2 separate regions of the Homo sapiens genome follow, and region 2 is linked to region 1. Evidence: promoter capture Hi-C in 16 types of primary human blood cells and fetal thymus (Javierre and others, 2016). All regions are on one chromosome and are shown on one strand. Each heading gives the region's core, a stretch centred on a gene start or on the middle of the fragment in contact. The rest is flanking DNA. Distances are from core to core; before and after follow the strand shown. Region 1 holds the start of LCE3A (late cornified envelope 3A). Region 2 has its middle 10 kb from the start of LCE3E.

Evidence for each region. The method cuts DNA at HindIII sites, captures the fragments that hold promoters and counts their contacts. A CHiCAGO score of 5 or more calls a contact.
Region 2: a fragment that was not itself captured here is called in contact with the fragment with the promoter of LCE3A in region 1 in 8 of 17 cell types (naive CD4 T cells, naive B cells, neutrophils and 5 more); the score reaches 6.4 in naive CD4 T cells.

Annotation. Positions count from the first base shown.
Region 1 is chr1:152,619,269-152,625,556 of GRCh38, reverse strand. It overlaps LCE3A (late cornified envelope 3A), which reads left to right and starts at 2,454. Exons shown (of 1, transcript NM_178431.1): 1 at 2,454-2,723. The coding sequence starts at 2,454. The coding sequence ends at 2,723. The HindIII fragment of the contact is 6,916 bases long and covers 1-5,291 here.
Region 2 is chr1:152,553,433-152,559,720 of GRCh38, reverse strand. No RefSeq gene overlaps it. Among named protein-coding and RNA genes, the nearest start is that of LCE3E, 10 kb to the left of the region's middle. The HindIII fragment of the contact is 2,571 bases long and covers 1,420-3,990 here.

The DNA of each region.
Region 1 (6,288 bases), core at 1,205-3,704:
TGCAATTGTCTCTTTTTATTATTATATCCTCTGAGGGAAGGAAGTAGGAGTACTTAAGGATATAAGGGCAAAGTTACTTCCAGCATAGCTCTGACACTAAAACTTAACAAAGCCTTGAGGACCCCATTCAGCATGTTCCTAAAAACATGCTTCTGGCACACCTGTCCTAGCCTTTCACCAGCTTTCCACCAGGAATTCCCACTCTTCCATTCATAATTCTGCAGAACTATTTTTTTTTTTTGAGACAGTCTTGCTCTGTCACCCAAGCTGGAGTGCAGTTGCGCGATCTCAGCTCATTGCAACCTCTGCCTCCCCAGCTCAAGCGATTCTCCTGCCTCAGCCTCCCGAGTAGCTAGGATTACAGATGCCCACCACCACACCCAGCTAATTTTTGTATTTTTAGTAGAGACGGGGTTTTGCCGTGTTGAACAGGCTGGTCTTGAACTCCTGACCTCATAGAACTCTTAAAAGAATGCATGGTATTGCAGTTTGTTCAAAGTGGAGTGATAGGCAAAGGGGAAGAAGGAACTAATATCCTCTAGCAGTGTATTTTGTACCAAAGAACAAGCATCTTCAGGCTTTCATATACTCTGATCAAAATAACATTTTGCTTAAAATTACAATATAATTTAAATTCATGATTATTAGAAACTTAATATTGTCTCAATTGTGATTATTTTCCTTGGAAGAATATATAGTATAATAAAGATTATTTTAAAATTCATTACAGTGGTTTTTATTTAGAGGCTATGGCATATTGTATTGTATTATTAGAGATGAATTCACTGATAAATTTATCACTGATATAACTAAAACCAAATAGTAAATAATATTCCATTTTTATGAATTCATCATATACAAACTTCAAGCATTATCACAGGTATTCATTAAGTGAAATGCATACAACCCCATCAACCTCATCATTATCAACAAATTCAAAGAAATTTTAATGAATTACTAACATAATATATAGGATTAAATTCAGCCTTGCACATTTCACAGACAGCCAAAAACGGATGCCCCTTTTTTCCCATTAAGTGTGATTTCTGTTGATCCCACAGATGGAGGTCACATTTTTATACCATCTGCACCTCCCTCCACTCTACCCCTCTGCCCCCACAGTGCCCAATGCCACCTTTAAGATGCCATGATATTCCCTGAAGACACTACCTCTCAAGCCATGGCCCCAGCTCCATTCTTCCACCCCTTACTCAACCCAGGTCCAGTGAGCTCAGTGCAGCCAACATCTCAGGACACAGGGGCTGATTCCATCACCTATGTAAAGGAATCCACAAAGCAATGGGGACTGACACCCAAAGGCAGTGACCCCAGCCTGCCATGTTTGTGCACACTTGTGCTGCGTCGCTTAGCACATAGGATGTGATTTAATTGCTCAGTTGTCCATCTGGCCTTCTGAAAAGCTGTGAGCTAGTCAAGGGGAGAAATGTGTTCTGTTTGTCCCCATATTACCAGGCCCCACAAAGGACGTACCCTGGCTTCAGAGCATGTGAGCTGAATGAAGAAAAAAAAGTGGAACAGCAGCCAGAGGGCCTGAACGGTGGATAATTGGACCGTCATCGAGATTTCCTGCTTCCCTTTTGTCATTCCTCAAAATATGCGCCTTAAGAATATGCTGAAAGCCTGGTCCTTGGGAGTGTGTGGTGCTTCCCCTCCCTTTGGGGAGCAAAGGAGGACACATAGTTGGGCTGTGCATCATAATACCCAGGATAAAAGGGCTGAGGCCCTGGGTTCCTCAGTCCACAATCACCTCAGGAAGAACCTTCTCCTGCCTCCACCAAACCAGGTGAGCGTCCAGCTGGCGAGAGGACCTGGGCTGAAAGGGCTGCGCAAACACGTCTGTGCTTCAACAAGGAGAGGGGAGGAGGCAGACACGGTGGAGGCGGCAGAGAGGCTGTGGTGGGTGGCCGGCTGGGACTGGGATGGGAGATGGGCGGGATAGTGAGGAAGACAGACAAGTCTGCGAGCCACTTCAGGGGCTCCGCGATGCTGCGACCTCTGAACCCCCTTTTCCTCATGTGCGCAGAGATGCGTTGCCTCCTCACACCCTGCGCTCACAGGCGTCCAGAGAGACGCCACCCTGGAGGGTCATGGGCGTTGTGTTCACGGGACGCCTGCAGGGGGAGCTGTTCGCATCGGGTCCGGAGGTGTGACAGGCCCCGCAGGGCGTGCGCAGGAGCCCCAGAGGCCCACCCAGGAGTGTCAGCTGCCTCCCAGGCAGGGGAGAGGGCCGGAGGAAGGGGCAGTATCAGGCCGGTTTAACTTCAGATCCGTTTGCATTCCCCTTCCCCAGGTCTTAGCTGGAGGGCAGACTGAGTTTAGGGGAAGGGATCCACAATTAAACCAAAGCATGAGGAGGCCCTGGCCTGAAACCTGCATTGACACGTATTTTGCTTTGCTTTTATTTTGCCCAGGCTCCCTGACCTCCTGCCTAGATGTCCTGCCAGCAGAACCAGCAGCAGTGCCAGCCTCCGCCCAAGTGCCCTGCAAAGAGCCCAGCACAGTGTCTGCCTCCAGCTTCCTCCAGCTGTGCCCCAAGCTCTGGGGGCTGTGGGCCCAGCTCCGAGCGCAGCTGCTGCCTGAGTCACCACAGATGCCGCAGGTCTCACCGTTGCCGTTGCCAGAGCTCCAACTCCTGTGACAGGGGAAGTGGTCAGCAAGGCGGGAGCTCCAGCTGTGGCCACAGTTCTGCGGGCTGCTGCTGACCTGAGCCACGAGATTAAGTAAAAATATTTGAGAAAAGAAAGTGCCAAAATGACTGGAACCAGCCCTAGCCTGGTGCTTCTTTGCTCCTGTCTCCTCTTTCCTACTGAGATGTTCCTTGATGAGTTTCAAGTACTCCCCCAGGGGATTTATCCTGCTGGTCTTAGTGTTTTCCCTCCTTCTTTAATATCCCTGTGCTGTGAAGAATAAAGCTGTGCTTTCTCGTTGCAAGCTCTGTCCAGTGCGTTCCCGTCTTTGCCTTACAGGGGCTGCCCCACATTGGGTACATAGGCCTATCTTAGGAACAGACACAAGTGGGTCATACACCCCTCAACTCACAAAACCCTTTTAGGGGGGTTGTATATTAGTGTGGGAATGAGGTGAGCAGTCTTTCACAAGGTCAAGGACAGAAGCATGAGTTGGAAATAAACACAGAGCTCTGGAAAACAAAGGGAATGAGCTTACTGGGCCCGTTCAGATCCTTCCGAAAACACTTTGGTAGCTCAGCCCTAGATGGCAGAGAAGAAGAGAAGCTCCAGATGGGAGCAGGTCCTTGGTCCTCTGGTTCCTCCAACTCTGATACTCTGTAGTCTTCATGACCCAGGACCACAGCAGCCCCCAGAGCTGTGGCAGCAACTGGAGCCTCCAGAATGCTCTGTTGGGCATGTCAGTGGGATCTGTGGGCCCATGGTGACTCCGGTAGCAGCTTCCTGCAGAGCTGGAACCACAACAGAAATAGACTGGCAGCAAACAACCAAAAGGATACTTGAGGGTTAGGCACTTGGGAGGGGGCTGACAGTGCTGTTAGTTTTTCCTTTCAGGACATCTCAGCTCAGTGATCCCTGGAAGAAATGAAAAAGTAAATCATTGTTTTCTATCTATCTATCTATCTATCTATCTATCTATCTATCTATCTATCTATCTATCTCTATCTACCTATCTGTCTCCCCTTGTCCCTCACCGTCTTTCTCAGACCCTGACCCTATGACCCTAAGCTCACGTTTTTGCTAACCTAAGGGCAGCAGGGAAACAGGGCCTTGGGCAGGGATGAATTGGCTCAGAATGTTTGCTGATCAAGGTATTTTCTCCTCCTACTTTGATTTAGAATCAGAAAAAAAGGAGATGGGACATGGAGAGTGATGATAGTGATGGACTCTACTCCAAGTAACAGCTCTTCAAACTCTAGCCCCTCAGTAGGAAATTCAATAATTATTCAGTAGATGCCCAGATGTTTTCTGATAGAAGGGAACCAGGAAGTCCCTGTAACACCCAAATATCTGGCCTTGATTATCAAGACTGTTGAAAACTAATTGTCTATACTATTTTATTCATTAATTAATTCATTCAAACAACAGGAATTGAGGACACAGTTCAGATATATGTTGACACAAAGGACTCAGAAATGTGTGAAATATGATTCCCATCCTTGAGATGCCGACTGACAAGTCAGCAATCCACTTATGAGCTGGAATGATATGGACTGTTACATAAGTGTGTGGGAAGTCCATGGGACTTATCCTTTGGATGGTAACCCCCTGTTTCCCTGACAAGAGTGAAGTGTCCAGACATTGTCACTAGTATCATTTGTGGGTGTTGGGTGAGGTTTCTGGCCTGCAAAATGACCTTTGATGGTCCTGTGATGGCCTAGCTAAAGTGACTAAGAGGAACTAATGGGACCCAAGAGCCAGGAGTCCCTGGGCAGAAGGTTTCCTGGCAGAGGGAGGAAATGAAGCTGCCCTTTGAGAGAAGTTGGATCTGAAAGGGAAGCAAGCTAAGATAATGGGAGGCAGAATAGTGTGCAGGCCAAGAACATGGGCACTGGAGTCGGACATTCCCATTGCCTCCCCTCTTTTAAATACCAGGAGAAACCTTGAAGAGTCTAGGGGAAAACAAAGCTAAAAAATAAAGGCAAAATGAACCAGAAATGCTGGAATTAAAAGCTGAGCCACCAATTAGCAGTCTAGATCTGTGACATGACAGACTTGCAAATCTAGCAGTCTAGATCTGTGACATGACAGACATTGCTTCAGCATTTACTTGACTGCACTATTGATCCAAGAGATAGGAATGGTTCAGACACAGGGATGCTCATATCACATTGGCCAGAACGCTTTAGGAAAAAGGAGGGATTGAATGATAATTGATGGGAGAAAAAATAAAGTGATGGACAATAGTGGTAATTAAGTTTATTTCACCAGTGTTTCTGCTGAATATAAATGACAGATGTATACTATTTTCCCATTGCATTTAATTTTTTTTAGGTGGAGTCTCACTCTGTCTCCAGGGCTGGAGTGCAGTGGCATGATATCTGCTCACTGCAACCTCCCAGGTTCAAGTGATTCTCCTGCCTCAGCCTCCTGAGTAGCTGAAACTACCACGAGCCACCACGCCTGGTTAATTTTTGTATTTTTAGTAGAGATGGGGTTTCACCATGTTGGCCAGGAATTAGATAATTATCTGGCATATGTAAATAACTTTGATATATTTTGGTAAGACATCATTATTGCAGCAATAGTTCTGAACATTCTAGTTCCATAAAGGTTATAGGAGTGGCCACCCTCTTCAAAGCTTGAATATGTTACAAGCATGACCAAAATCTGAGTCTTTTCAAAACACTGTGGGAACATTAATTTATACTAGGGCTTCAGCAACATGTAGAGTGAACTGACAAGAGGGTGAGGATTTGGCTGATACCTATTTGTGATGATTTTAAAGCATGGTTCAAATTTTTTTTGACATTCCTCTCATTGAGAAGTTAGGCCTATGTCCACTTACCTTGAATCTAAGCGGGCTTGTAACTCCTTTAACCAAATGAATATGGTTGAAATATGCTATGTGACTTCAAAGGCTGGGTCACAAAAGGTCATGCAGATTCCACCTGGTCCTCTTAGGAGGCTGTCTCTGGGGAAGCCAGTTACCATGTAAAAAGTCTCGCTATTCTAAGACCATCATGCAAGAGAGGCCAGATGTAGGTCCTCCAGGTGACAACCCCAGAAGAGGGCTCAGCTGGCATCCAGCATCAACAGCCAACCATCTGAGTGAGACTTCTTGGATGTCCAGCCCAGTCAGCCTTCAGATGACCACAGCTCCAATCAACATCTGACGACAAATGCATGAAATGAGAATTGCCCTGCTGAGTCCTTTCTGAATTTGTGACCCATAAAATTGTGAGAAAACCAAGATGGCTGTCATTCCAATCACTTAGTGTATTGTTTCACATCACTAAGTTTTGGGGTGATTTGTTATGTAACAATAGGACACCCACTGATTTTCTGCCATCAGCAACTTATGTTCTTCCTTCTAAAGTTGTTGGCTCTGCTGAGGTGCCAATAGCCACTAGATAGCTTTCTTAGTCCCCCCAAAATTCACCACTTTCATGCCTTAATGTTTTTCCAAGGTTTATCTCACCTACACTGACACTCATGACACACAGGGTATGATAATCCAACTGAATGCAGAGCAAGGAAAATGTCAGCCTGCAACATGCCCAGTCGATGTCTGCTCCAAGTAAAAAGAAACTTCATCTGTTCCCATTGTATCTACAATGCCTAGAGTGGCACCTGGCAT
Region 2 (6,288 bases), core at 1,456-3,955, 66 kb after region 1:
ACTTTGTGCATAGTGACTTACATTATAGCAATTTTCTCATGGAAGCAGGCTCCCTATTTACTTGTTTGTCTGTGCAATTAGACAATTAATTTCTATAGGTCAGGTGACATGTCATATTGAACTCTACCTTTCACCACAAAGCACAGGGCACAGCCTCTTTTAAGGACACATGTAGGCCTGGGTGGAAGATGCACAAGTGAGGACCAGGCTCTTTGTGGTCAAACATGCCATCCTGTTCCAGGGAAGGTGGATAAGTCCTGAAGCTGGGCTGGGGTACTTAGTGCTGTCAACTCCCCCAGCAGCCCACTCATGCTGCCCCTCACATGCTAGGAGCTCCTGTCCTGGGCTCCCCAGTCCACTGACTTCTCAAAATCAGCATTCTCTGGCTTCTATGAAATCAGATGGATGTCTAGCTGGAGACAGGACCTGAGCTGGAAGACCTAGGAAGACAAGCCCAGGCTTCCATCAGGGGAGAAGGAAGCAGAGGGTCTGGGATGGAGGCACCAGGAAGAGTGTGGGGTTAATGGGCACCCTCTCAGGATGTTTCAGGTGTCCTGTGACTGTGAAGGTAATGGGTTTTCAGCACACCCTCATCTTCTTCCTACATTTGTTCTGCGAGATGCACTGATCTCACCAGACATCATCAAGGAAGGTTTACCCAAACAGGCTTATTCTCCTCTGTGATTACATGGAGATAAGATACCTGAGGGGCCCAGTTAGAAAAGACTCAGCATCCTTTTCTAGTAGGAGACCAGAGAAAAACGCATTTTTCCAAGGTAAACTAACTCCAAGTAACTTTTCATTTCTTCCGTGTATTTCTTAGTTCAGTAGGAGAGCATGGGGTCTATGACACCCATCACAGAAGAGATATTGACAGAGGTTTGTGCATTACAAGCACATCTGATTCTATTGATGTCTTCTGAGATGCCCTCCAGCAAAACCAGCAGCAGTGATAACCCCCAAAGCCTTCAAAGTGCACACCCCAGTACTAAGCCTCATACCCACCTCCAGCCTTTCCCTGCAGCCCCAGTTCAGGGGTCACTTTAACTTTAGTGGGGCACTGCTGCTTGACCTATCAAAGGCCCCATCTTTTCTACTGGCACAGGCACCACAGCCTCTACTGCTGTGAGTGAGCCTGCCAGGGGCTCCAGCCATTGCTAGAGAATTACTGCTGACCTTGGCAGTACATTGAGATGAGCAATTTTAAAGGAACCAGAGACCAAAGTGCCCAGGATTAACCTCAGTCTGATGTACCCACTCCTAACCTCCTGCCCATGGTCTGAGCTCCTGAGTTCATCCTGAAGAGGGTTGTCAGTGATCTCCAGCGGTCTCCCTGGGTGTCCCTCATGGTTGTCTCCACACCCATGTTCTGTTCAGTGCTTAGCAGCACTTATGTCTCACTCTGTGAAAAATAAAGCTTCTCTTCTCCACCTACATTTCTATTTTGCCCCTCCCAAAGCTGCTCCATTGCTCTTCCCCTTCTTATCTCCCAGGCTGAGTGCCTCACAGGACAAGAAGAATGAGAAATGTCACTTATCTCCATTCATAGGGAGACCGTGAGGAGTTTATGTGTTAGGACTGGAAAGAGGTTGCAGAAGGACACACGGCTGCAGAGAAAACATTCATATTATTTCTATAGGGAAGATCTGGGTGTTGACGGGGTAGGAAGGGATCCTTGAAAGCTAATTAGGTGACAGGTGCAAAGAGAGAAATGGAGGTGTTTGCAAGGGCATATACTGAGAGGAACTTAGGGAAAGGGGAAAAAATGAGATCATTTCAGGAGTTGCAAATTGGATATGTATTCATAGGATCTATAATTTATATAGGACTCATAATGTACCAGTGGCTTGACATACAGTAAATAACTTAATCCTCACTGCAGTCCTTTGAGTTAGATACTAGCCTTCTCCCATTTTACAGAGGGGAATCAATGTAGAATGGGTGCCCAAGGTCTCCCAGAAGCTGCCGTGCAAACCCAGACAGTTTCACTGACCACATGCTCCTGACCACCATGGTACCCTGAATTCCTCTAAAATGTTTTAAGAAATATGAAAAAAAAAAAAAAGGATCCCTAGACCTGGGCACAGAGACCTAGCTGTGCCTGTGGAGTCAGATCTGTGCTCCAAAGTACCACCAGAACTCCTGCTGTCAGTGAATTACCCCAAGATGTAGAAAGGTGGCACCAGAATCAACTAAGAAAGTTTGGGTTGAGACATTAGTACAGTTCATGGGAGCCAGAAGTTATGGCAGTGGTGACCCGCCACTGGAAGCTGATTCCTACAAGTGAGGTCTCAGTAAGTGTGAAGACAGACTTTTCAGTCCTCATCAGGGGACTTCTAGGCCAAGCCTCATTCATTCAAAAATTTATTCATTCACTACATACTTATTTGGCACTGGTCTAGGTACTTGGATCAGTTTGAAACAAGACAAAGTCCCCTCTCAGGGAGCTTATGTTCCAGGGGCCCATTGGAGGCATCTTCTGGCTTCCTTGCTTGGCAGCAGATTTAGACAAAGGTGGCTCTATATTCAATTGGATTCCCACTCTGGGGCACTTGACAGATGCTGGTAAAGAGTAGCTAAACCCAGTGAAGGCACCCATCATGGGCAAACTTTTGACATTGGATATCATTGTCTTAGTGGATACAAAAAGGACATCTAATATCTGCTTGCTTCCACACCCAAGGTAAGAGTTTAGTGAGGCAAGGAATAGGTGGTTATTCCAACCATGAAATGTTTGTTTGAAAGTTGAAAAGTCCTCGTCCTTTCCCAGTCTCATTCTCAGGGAACAACCCCATTCACCCAAGTGTCTTGAAAGTGCTTTTGTTTCCTACTTGGCTATAATGTATGTGAGCAAATAAAAAAGATGGCCACACCTACAGACTTCCCTGTATCAGGATACTCAGACATGTTTAATGTAATAATAGTGTTTTTAAAATACCTATTAATAATTTTTTGAATAATGATTTTATTATATTATTTCAACTTTTATTTTACATTCAGCAAACAGAGAGAATTTGGCATCCTCTTTTCCTATTTGGATGCCTTGTATTCTTTCTCTTGGCTGATTGCACTGACTAGGACTTCTAGCACTATGTTGAATAGGTGTGGTAAGAGTGAGAATTAATGTCTTGTTCCTGTTCTTAAGGGGATGTTTCCAGCTTTTGCCCCTTCAGTATGATGTTGGCTGTGGGTTTGTCATAGACGGCTCTCATTATTTTGAGGTATGTTCCTTGAATACCTAGTTTGTTGAGGATTTTTATTATGAAACAATGATGGATTACATCAAAAGTTTTTTCTGTATCTATTGAGATTATCATATGGTTTTTGTTTTTAATTCCATTTAGCTGGTGAATCACATTTATTGATTTGCTTTTTGTTGAACCAACTCTGCATTCCAGGAATAAAGCCTACAAACTTGATCATGGTGCATTAGCTTTTTGAGCTACTGCTGCATTCAGTTTGTTTGTTAAGGATTTTTGCATCTGTTTCATCAGGGATATTTGCAATAGTTTTCCTTTTCATTGTCTCTTTTCCAGATTTTGGTATCAAAATGATACTGGGTTTGTAGAATGAGGTTGAGAGGAGCCCCTCATCCTCGTTTTTTTTGTAATAGTTTCAGTGGGATTGGTACCAGCTCTTCTCTGTACCTTTAGTATAATTTGGCTGTGAATCCCTCTGGTCCTGGGCTCATTTTGGTTGGTAAGTTTTTTTGTTATTGATTCAATTCTGGAACTCAATATTGGTCTGTTCAGGGTTTTGGTTTGTTCCTGATTCAGTCTTAGGGGGTTGTGTGTTTCTAGGAATGTATTCATTTTCTCTAGTTTATCTAGCTTGTGTGCATAGAGGTGGTCATAATAGTATCTGAGGATCTTTTATTTTTCTATGGGCTGGGTCATAATGTCAGCTTTGTCATTTGTAATTGTACTTTTCTTTCTTTGCTAATCTAGCTAGCAGTCTATTGATCTTGTTTATCCTTTCAAACAACAAGCTTTTGGTTTTATTGATCCTTTGGATGAATTTTTAGGTCTCTTCTATTTGATTTTGCTCTGATTTTAAGTATTTATTTTCTTCTCCTAGCTTTGGGGCTAGTTTTTCCTGCTTCCTGGTTCCTTTAGGGATGAAGTTAGATTGTTAATTTGAGATCTTTCTAACTTCTTTATGTAGACATTTAGTGCTATAAACTTTCCTCTTACCACTGCTTTTGCTGCATGCCAGATATTTTGGTATGTTGTGTGTCTGTTTTCATTTATTTCAAAGAATTGTTTGACTTATGCTTTAATTTTACTGTTCACCCAAAAGTCATTTGGGAACAAGTTGTTTAATTTCCAACTCATGTTGTAGTTTTTAAGAAATCTTTTTATATTGATTTCCATTTTATTCCACTATGATCAGAAAGTATGATTGGCATAATTTTAATGATTTTGAACATATTGAGACTTGCTTTATGGCCAAGCATGTATTCAATCCTAGAGTATGTTCTACACGCAAATAAGAAGATGTATTCTGTTGTTGATGGGTGGAGGGATCTGTAGATGTCTATTGGGTCCAATTGGTCAAATGTTGATTTTAAGTCCAGAATTGCTAGTTTTCTACCTTGATGCTCTGTCTAATGCTGTCAGTGGGGTATTGAAGTCCCCCACTATTATTGTATGGCTATCTAAGTCTTTTAATAGGTCTAGAAGTACTTGTTTTATAAATTTAAGTGTTCCAATGTTGGATGCATATATATCTAGGATAGTTAAATCTTCATGTTGAACTATAGTTTATGTAGTGCCCTTCTTTGCCCTTCTTTACTTGTTGATTTAAAGTCTGTTTTATCTGATATGCGTATATATATATATATATATATATATATATATATATATATATCCCTGTTCTTTTTTGTTTTTAGTTTACGTGATAGATCTTTCTCTAACCCATTTACTTTGAGACTATAGGTGTCATTACATATGAAATTAGTCTCTTGAAGACAGTATACAAATGGGTCTTGTTTTTTTTTTCCAATTTGCAGCTTTGTGCTATTTATGTGGGGCATTAGATCATTTACATTCAAGGTTAATATTGATATGTGAAGTTTTAATCCTCTTGTGAAGTTGATGGCTGATGGCTTTGTTGTTTCCATTGCATGGTTGCTGTATAGGGACTGTGGACTATGTATTTACATGTGATTTTGTGGTTGCACATGTTGTTCTTTCGTTTCTATGTTTATAAATCTCTTAAGGATCTTTTTTAAGGCTGGTCTAGTGGTAACAAATTAGTGATTGCTTGTTTGGAAAAGTTTTCGTTTCTCCTTTGCTTATGAAGTTCAGTTCGATGGGATATAAAATTCTTGCATGGAATTTCTTTCCTTTAGGAATGCTGTAAATGTGCCCCCAATTTCTTCTGGCTTGTAAGGTTTCTCATGAGTAATCCTCTGTTAGCCTGATGGGCTTCCCTTTGTACATGGTTTGACCTTTTTCTCTAACTGGCTTTAAGATTTTTTTCTTTAGCATTGACCTTTGACAGTCTGTGGCTATATGCCTTGGTGATGTTCATTTTGTACAGTATCTGCGAAGTGTTCTCTGGTTTTCCTATATCTGGATGTCTATCCCTCTAGCAAGATTAAGAAAATTTTCTTGAATTAATCCCTCATATATATTTTCCAAATTGTTGAGTCCTTCTCCTTCTCTCTCAGAAATGCCAATAATTCATAGGTTTGATCACTTTACAAAATTCCATATTTCTCAAAAACTTTGTTAATTTCTTAAATTCTTTTTCTTCATATTCTTCATTCAGACTAACACAGTCTGAGTGGGTTAGTTTGAGCCAAGATGGCTGAACAGGAACAGCTCCAGTCTACAGCTCCCAGTGTGAGCAATGCAGAAGATGAATGATTTCTGCATTTCCAACTGAGGTATCGGGTGCATCTCACTGGGGATTGTTGGGCAGTGGGTGCAGGATAGTGGGTGCAGTGCACCAAGCCTGAGCTGAAGCAGGGCGAGGCATCACCTCATGCGGGAAGTGCAAGGGGTCGGGGAATGCCCTTTCCTAGGGGTGATGGACGGCACCTGGAAAATCAGGTCACTCCCACCCTAATACTGCACTTTTCTGATGGTCTAAGCAAAAGGCACACCAGGAGATTATATCCCGTGCATGGCTCAGAAGGTCCTACGCCCACAGAGCCTCACTATTGCTAGCACAGCAGTCTAAGATCAAACTGCAAGGCAGCAACGAGGCTTGGGGAGGGGCGCCTGCCATTGTTGAGGCTTGAATAGATAAACAAAGCAGCTGGGAAGCTCGAACTGGGTG